Linked DNA regions of Homo sapiens: region 2 is linked to region 1. The links are contacts of gene promoters, found by promoter capture Hi-C in blood cells and fetal thymus (Javierre and others, 2016). All regions are on one chromosome and are shown on one strand. Each heading gives the region's core, a stretch centred on a gene start or on the middle of the fragment in contact. The rest is flanking DNA. Distances are from core to core; before and after follow the strand shown. Region 1 holds the start of MBD1 (methyl-CpG binding domain protein 1). Region 2 holds the start of TXNL1 (thioredoxin like 1).

Region 1 (4,231 bases), core at 617-3,116:
ACTGCCCTCTCTACTCCAAATCCCCAGGGCCACACGACTCTTCTGTGATGTGTATAATCCTCAGAGCAAAACATACTGTAAGCGGCTCCAGGTGCTGTGCCCCGAGCACTCACGGGACCCCAAAGTAAGGTTTTCCCTCAGCTCCTCCCATTTTGCCCCTCCTCCCTGCCTCGCTGTCCCACATTCATCCCTTCCTTCCTCACCTCACTTTTCCTTCACTTTTTCCTCTCAGCTTCCCTGCTGCTTCACCCTCCATTCCTCCTTTTCCATGCCTCCTCACCGTTCCCTGAACCCTCCATTCTTTTCCTTCTCCCTCCTTGAGCCCCCATTCCTATTCTCCCTTATCACCGCTATTCATCCCCCCAACCTGGCCTCCTTGCAGGTGCCAGCTGACGAGGTATGCGGGTGCCCCCTTGTACGTGATGTCTTTGAGCTCACGGGTGACTTCTGCCGCCTGCCCAAGCGCCAGTGCAATCGCCATTACTGCTGGGAGAAGCTGCGGCGTGCGGAAGTGGACTTGGAGCGCGTGCGTGTGGTAGGTTTCTGTGCGGTTTTGGTGCTGCATGTGGTAGGTTTCCATGTCGGACGTGGCCGGGGCAGGCGGGGCTGCAGGTGTTCCTGCTTAGGACTCCTGCCGCTCCCTTGGCAGTGGTACAAGCTGGACGAGCTGTTTGAGCAGGAGCGCAATGTGCGCACAGCCATGACAAACCGCGCGGGATTGCTGGCCCTGATGCTGCACCAGACGATCCAGCACGATCCCCTCACTACCGACCTGCGCTCCAGTGCCGACCGCTGAGCCTCCTGGCCCGGACCCCTTACACCCTGCATTCCAGATGGGGGAGCCGCCCGGTGCCCGTGTGTCCGTTCCTCCACTCATCTGTTTCTCCGGTTCTCCCTGTGCCCATCCACCGGTTGACCGCCCATCTGCCTTTATCAGAGGGACTGTCCCCGTCGACATGTTCAGTGCCTGGTGGGGCTGCGGAGTCCACTCATCCTTGCCTCCTCTCCCTGGGTTTTGTTAATAAAATTTTGAAGAAACCAAGGAAGCTGTCTCCACATTGCTGCGGTTGCAACTGTTCCAGACTTCTGGATAAGATGGGGGGCGCCTGCACCCCGCGAGAGCCCAGGGACCCACATTCCCAGCCTCCCACGGGCAGAGGGTCTACGCAGCGCGCCTTCAGTGTGGTGACACCGCCCATGCATGCTCCTGTCTCCCACCCAGAGCTGTCGTCCGCTGTGGACGCCAGGCCCCGCCTTTTCCCCACAAGCCCCACGTTGGGGATCCGCCTCCTGCAGGGGCGCGCCCTCCCGCGTGCCTCAGTTTACCTGCGGTGTGGCACCGCCCCTTTCCCCGCCCCGCGCGCTCCCACAGCTGTTCGGCGGGGAGGAGGGAGCGGGACACGACCCCCCCTGGGGTTGATGTTCGGAGGGACCCACGAACACAGGATAGACCCCAGCGAGAGGTGGGAGAGGAGAGCGCCGGCAGGGCCAGGGAGTGCGCAGGCGCGAAGCAGCTTCCTTGCCGCGTTCGGTATCGGCTGTGGAGACCGCGGGAGGGAAGGGAGGGCGCAGGCGCAAGCCCTCCCCGACCGCTTCCCTTCAGGTTGAGGCTGGAAAGCGCATGCGCCAGCTAGATGGGCAGCGAGGAGAGCCGCAACTGCCAGTCCCTCGAAGGGGTTAGCTGTCGTTGAACGTCAGCACGCAGATGCAACTGGCTCTCGGCAGGGGGGCGCGCGCACCGCTGCGGAGCGCCGGCCCGTAGGCGCGGGAGCCTCCCTATTAAGGGCACGCGACATCGAGGCAATAGTGCGCAGGTGCTTAGCCAGAGGCGGAGCCCGAGAGGCAGGCAGCGGACTTCCGGTTCCGGGAGCAACGAACAGCCGCGGAGGCGACAGCTACCGCTTCAGAGGAGGCGGCCGCGGAGGAGGAGGAAGGGGAGGAGGGCGAGGCGGGAGGTGCAGGAGGGACCCTCGCCATGGGTCCACGGGCCTAGAGTGGCGGAAGATACCGGCCTGGTGCCAAACTGGTGAGACAGCCTTGGGGCTGGACGTGGAGAGCGCTCAGGCGGAGGATGGGAAGGAATTGTGGCTCAGAACGCTGACGGGGAGGAATGAAGGGCCCTCAGGCCGATAAGGGGGAGGAATGGCGGCGTCGGAATACTGACGAGGAGAAATGGGGGGATTTAGGCTGAGGACGGGAAGGAATGCAGCTCTGAACTCTGACAGGTAGGAGTGTCGGGATCCTGGGACGAGGACGGAGAGGAATGGTGGAGATCAGAACGCTAAAGGGAGACATCGGGGCATCTGAAGTTGAGAGAGAAATGGGGGTTCAGAACTCTGAGAGGGAGAAATGAGGGGCCCTCAGGCTGATGACAGGAGAAATAGAGGCTTTGGAATGCTGAAAGGGAGGAATAGGAGGCCCCATATAGAGGACGAGGAGCAGTAGGGGATCAGAATGGTGACAGTTAGGGATGGCATGATCCCGGGACAAGAACAGAGAGAATGGAGGAGGGTTCGGAATGCTGAGGGGAGAAATTAGGGTCTCTCTGGATGATAAGGGAGGAATGGAGGATGAGAACAGTAAGGAGGAGAAGTGGGGAACTTTTTGGCTGTAGAGGAAGGTTTGGGAGCTCAGACTAGGGAGAAATTGTGGGTGAGAACATTGAAGGAGAAGAAAAATAAGGGGGGAGGTCTTGGGCTGAGGAAGGGGAGGCATGGGAGGCTTCCAGTGTGAGGAATGGAAAAGATGAGGGGCTGTTCAGGCTATGGGTTGGAGCAGTTGTGTCTCGCAGAGGAAGTCGAGGTTGTAACACTGAGGTAGCAGGATAAGAGGACATCAGGCAGAGAAGGAATGGAGTGGTTAAAACACTGAAGGAGGGAAATTAGGAACTCCTGGGTCAAGGAAGGGGGGAATGAGAGACTACTGAAGTCAAGTAGTGAGGGCAAGAGAAATGGGGCCCTTTGGGGCTGAGGATGGGGACTATGGGGGTCTTGGGGTGATAAAATAGAGGGATAGAGGCCCTTAGGTCAGTGACAGGGAGGAATGAGGGGGAAGGATGAAAAGTTTCTGGATTGGCAGTGAGGAGAAATGATGGGTTGTCAGTCTGAGGATAGAGAGGAGTAGGGGATTAGGACACTGAGAATAAGAAACAGGGATCCTTGGGTTGAGGAATGATGATATCCTAGGCCCAGAATAGGAAAGAATGGGGTGAGAATATGAGGGGTTTCTTTTCCATATATGGGCTGGTTGCCTGTGGCAGGTCCTAGGGCTTGGGCAAGCACTAATGGATACCAGTGATTTGTGTGGCCTGGGGCACAGTGTTGTCCCTTCCTAGAGCCTCAGTTTCCCTCATCCCTTCCACCCCCTTTCAGGCTACTGCTGCTTCCTGTGGCCTCCATGGCTGAGGACTGGCTGGACTGCCCGGCCCTGGGCCCTGGCTGGAAGCGCCGCGAAGTCTTTCGCAAGTCAGGGGCCACCTGTGGACGCTCAGACACCTATTACCAGAGGTACTGGGTGGGTAGTGGGCAGAGTCAGGAGTGGGGTAGAGCCTGATTCTGGTAAAATCAAATGGTGTGGTTAAATTTATGGATGAAGTTTAAATTATGCACATACAGTTAATCCTTATTAGCGGATTTTATGTTTGAATTTCACCTACTTAATAAAATTTATTTGTAACTTAAAAGTCACTACTCACAGTGCATTTGTGATTATTCAAGAATACGTACAGAGCAGTGAAAAACTGTCACTCAATGCATGTATTTCTAGCTGAGGCTGAAGGAGCCCTTTTCAGCTTTAATACTGTAAACAGGTGTCCTTTTCGTGGTCTGTTTAGTGTCACATTTTTCTAATTTTTGTACTTTTTGGTGATTTTGCTTTTTAAAATGGTCCCCAAGCATAGTGCTGAGGTGCTGTTTAGTGTTCTGTGAGAAGACTATGTCGTGCTTTATGGAGAAAATACAAGGCAGATAAACTTTGCTGGTTATCTGAGTTACAATGCTGTTGGCTGTAAGTTCAATGTTATGCATCAGAATTATGGTACAACCAGAAAAAGAAGGAAATTTGCCAATATGTGCACAAAGCTGCTTCAGAAAGTACAGAAAGCATTTATAGTCTTGAAGCTATGTAAGAGATGAGAAAGCAGCTACATTGGTGGGTTCATGAAATGACGATCAATAAAGCATAGTTGACAGCATTGTTGAGGAAAGCCAAAGTCATGTTACCCTGGGTTAGG
Region 2 (4,231 bases), core at 85-2,584, 6.4 Mb before region 1:
CCGGGGGCCCTGCCGCGCGGTGGCTGCTGGGTGCCGCACGCCTTCCCATCCTCCTCCTCTCCCCTCCCCCATCCCTCCCCGCCCCCTCGGCCGCTCCGCTCCCTGGCGTGACTCGGCACTGAGAGTCCCGGGAGAAGACTCGGCGGTCGCCACCTCTTCTGTCCAGGCCTCGGCCTTCCTGAGCATCTCTCCTTCCTCTCCCAGATCGTCTTCTCCTTCAGTTTCAAAGCCAGTGGCGTCGCGGCCACCCTGCCGGGCTCTCTGTGAGGATGGTGGGGGTGAAGCCCGTCGGGAGCGACCCGGATTTCCAGCCAGAGCTGAGCGGCGCGGGCTCCAGACTCGCCGTGGTCAAGTTCACCATGAGAGGGTGAGGCCAGGCTCGAGCTCTGTGGGTCCCCGTCTGTCCTTCCTTGCTTTCCTTTCACTCTTTGTTGGCCCTGGTTTCCTAGCCGTCTGCTGCCCCGGAGTGTCCGGCAGTCGCCGCAGCCCCAGGAGCTGCCGGAATTAGGCCTCGTTTCTCGGGTGTGAACCCCCATTTATGCACAGGGGTTCCTAGACGGGCTCGGGGGCCTGGCTGGCCGGCTTCTCCAGCTCAGGAGATTTCTCACCTGCTCCTTTTCAATTCTTTGACAAACTGGTTTTGGGGGTGGCCCGCCCCTATTCCTTCCAGCCTGTGGGAGTCTCCGCAGCCACCCTTGCCTGAGCCTGACCCCTTCTTTCTGCAGAGCCAGCTGTCATTTGCATCTCCAGAGCTCCAAAAGCTTAATTTACCGAACACTTTGTTTCTCTTCACCACCTACATCTCTCTAAAGCCTTTGAAGATTCAGATGGGGCGATCTAACTAATATGCGTAGCTCTGAGTCCTGAATTTCTGCTAATGCATTTCGAACTAAGTTAACGTTGGGTTAGGGTGCTTTTTAAATTATTTGAACTTTTTTCTTCCTCGTTCGGCCACTAACTTGTAGCTTAGGCTCCCCTATGTATGCGATTGCAACTGGTCACACACGACAGTACATATATAATATATTTCAGGTGGACAGTTGGCCGGATGTCTTAGTTTGACCCGGCTCTGTTTTTTCACTTAAGAGGACAGGGATCTTGAAAAATGTTAACTGTCTTTGGTAAATATCAACAAAATTATAGGTCGTAGAAAAGGTGGACCTTTTATAGTGGATGTGTAGTAAAGTTCCTTTGTAAGAATGACATGTTGGAACTCGGCGTTGAGAACCAAGATTTCAGCGTGTGTGTGTGTTTCACAGATCTCTCCTTGTGTATGTCGATAGTATTTAGTTAGAAGTATGAGAGGTTTCCGCTTTATTTTCCTTGACCCCTTGGCGTTATTTATACATCTAACTTGGAGCAGTCTACTGCTGGTATCACTGTTTATGTAACACACTTTCTTGTCCAAATAACTGTATAAACACAAAATTCCATTTTGAATTTCAGAGCAAAAAACAAAGTTTCTACTAGATGGTTCACTAAATGTTGAGTATATAAATGGTGGCATTAGGATTATATCGTTTTAGGGAATGGATGCAGATAGATATGAAAACAAGTTAAGACTTATTTTTGGACCAGTCTCTCTTACACTGAATTGAAAAAGGATAGTACCTTGCATTTCATATGGTGGGCTAGAGTACCCATATGATATACGGAATTTTGCATTTACTAAATTTAAAAGGATAAGTGATGTCATATATATAAAACACCTAAAAGGAATGTTAGAATTCTATAAATGTGTCTTCTCATTTTTAGCAATTTTGTGATGTCTGTATTCTTAATAATAGGGGAATACCTGTAGTACATTAAGTATCTAGGCCACAGTAGAAAAGGGAAGATAGGATTTCAATAAGGAACCTCACCTCACTTTTAGTTCACTTATTCTAATTCTGGCCCGTCGAAGCTTTTATATTTTTGTCCCTCAATGATATATTGTTTTTCTCCCTTACCATAGCAGTGGGAGAGATAATAAAATAATAAATAAATATTGATTGAAGTGAGAAAACTGGGGAAACATTGCTGCGAAGGAAGGTTTTTTCTATCAGTGTGGTGTCACTTAAGCATAAGCATAACTGCAGACATTGATTGGTAAGGAACTGTTACATTTAAAAAGGTATTTTAGTGGAATTAAAATTTTTTTTCTTTGTAAAAACCGAGGGAAAATTAATGTTTGGATTTAGAGTAAGTTCAAAAGCATATTTATATTACGTTTACAAATCTGGTAAGATTATTGTATTTACCTTTAATATTCCTCGAACTTATTGGCCATTAATACATCCTGTCTAAACTCATTGTCAATAGAACCCCAGAATTATGTATATGACGGGTCAGTATTAGACTCAGAAACAACTGTATTCAGTAAAATCTTGTAAGAATCCTCTTAGATCAAAGTTAATGCTGTCCCAGTTTAGACTGAGGGCATAGTTTCTCCAGCACCTATTTCATTTCCTTTCCAACCCTATTTTAAACCTTTTTTCTTTTTTTTTAACCTCTATGCTTTATGCACTCTCAGTCTAAATTTTACTAAAATGATACATAGATTGTTCTCCTGTGTAAGAATCTTTAGTGGCTTATGATAAAATATATATAACATAAAATTGACCATTTAGCCATTTGTAAGAGTATAATTCATTGGCATTAAGGACAGTCAGCCCTCTGTATCCATGGATTGAACCAAATGTGGATAGAAAATATTTGGAGAAAAAAAATTGCATTTGTGCTGATCATGTACACACTTTTTTCTTGTCATTATTTTCTAAACAATACAGTATAACAACTATTTACATAGCATTTACCTTAGGCATTATAAGTAATCTAGAGATGATTTAAAGTATATGGGAGAATGGTCGTAGGTTATGTGCAGATACCATGTCATTTTCTATTAGGCCCTTGAGCATCTGTGATTTAGTGTCTTGCTGGAGGTCCTGAAACTAATCCCCCAGATACCCAGACATGACTATACAGTCACAATGTTGTGCCACCATCACCACTGTTTCCTATAACTTTAGACAGAAATTCTATATCCATTAAAGGATAACTCCCCATCCTTACTTCTCCAAAGGGACAAAACTGTACCCATTAAGCAGTAATTTGCCCCTCCCCATCTACCTCCTTGGTAACTTCTATTCTGCTTTCTGTCTCTATGAATTTGTCAATTTGTGGCACCTAATATAAGTGAAATCGTAACAATATTTGTCCTTTTGTTTTTGACTTCACTTAGCATAGTATTTTCAAGGTTCATCCATGTCTTAGTATGTCTCAGAATTTCATTCTTCTTTATAACTGCATAACATAATCCATTTATTTATATGGCAAATTTTGTATACCTGTTCATTTTTTGATGGACATTCCAGTTGTGTCTTCCTTTGGCTGTTGTGGATAATGCTGCTAGGGGACATTGCTATGCGGGGATCCCTGCTTACTTGCTTGCTTTTCTTTTTTCTTATTTGTTAGAGACAGGGTCTTGCTCTGTTGCCCAGGCTGGAGTGCAGTTTTGAGACGATGGCTCACTGCAGCATTGAATTCCTGGCCTCAAGCAATCCTCCCACATCAGCCTCTCAAGTAAATGGGACTACAGACACATACCACCATGCCCGCTAATTTATTTTTTGTTTTAGAGACTAAGTCTCACTTTGTTGCCCAGGCTGGTCTAAATCCTGGCTTCAAGCGACCCTCCCACGTCAGCATCCCAAATTGCTGGGGTTACAGGTGTGAGTCACTGCGCTGGGCCTTCTGTGCCCATTTTTGAATTGAGTGGTTTGTTTTTGGGTTGAGTTGCAGGAGTTCTTTATATATGCCGGATGTTAATATTTAATTTGCAAATACTTTGTCCCATTCTTTGGGTTGTCTTTTTCTTGATGGTGTCCTTTGATGCATGAGTTTTAAATTTTGATGAAGTCCAATTTATCTATACTTTTGTTGCCTGTGCTTTTGGTGTCATATTCAAGAAATCATTGCAAGATTCAATGTCATGAAGATTTCTCCCTATGTTTTCATCTAAGAGTTTTATAGTTTTAGCTCTTAAGTTTAGGTCCTTGATCCATTTTGAGTTAATTTTGGTATATGTCATAAAGTTAGGGTCCAGTTCATTTTTTGGCATGTGGATATCCAATTTTTCCAACACCGTTTATCGAAAACACTGTCTTTTCCTCATTGAATGATCAGCACCCTTTTCCCAGAGTATTTTTTAAGGATTAAAATAGTCAACGCTTACATATTCCTTAGTCTGTGT

What was found. Contacts are between HindIII fragments. The CHiCAGO score rates a contact against its expected background, and 5 or more counts as called.
Region 2: a fragment that was not itself captured here is called in contact with the fragment with the promoter of MBD1 in region 1 in 1 of 17 cell types (naive CD8 T cells); the score reaches 5.3 in naive CD8 T cells.

The regions. Positions count from the first base shown.
Region 1 is chr18:50,279,158-50,283,388 of GRCh38, reverse strand. MBD1 (methyl-CpG binding domain protein 1) reads left to right here and starts at 1,866. Exons shown (of 17, transcript NM_015846.4): 1 at 1,866-2,026; 2 at 3,372-3,506. The coding sequence starts at 3,397. It overlaps CXXC1 (CXXC finger protein 1), which reads left to right. Exons shown (of 15, transcript NM_014593.4): 13 at 28-124; 14 at 383-535; 15 at 650-1,042. The coding sequence ends at 796. RefSeq lists enhancers at 627-1,207, 1,208-1,788 and silencers at 1,934-2,043, 2,054-2,133. The HindIII fragment of the contact is 20,722 bases long and covers 1-4,231 here.
Region 2 is chr18:56,634,479-56,638,709 of GRCh38, reverse strand. It overlaps TXNL1 (thioredoxin like 1), which reads left to right and starts at 118. Exons shown (of 8, transcript NM_004786.3): 1 at 118-367. The coding sequence starts at 270. RefSeq lists enhancers at 1-80, 240-299, 81-1,066 and a silencer at 1-89. The HindIII fragment of the contact is 1,142 bases long and covers 764-1,905 here.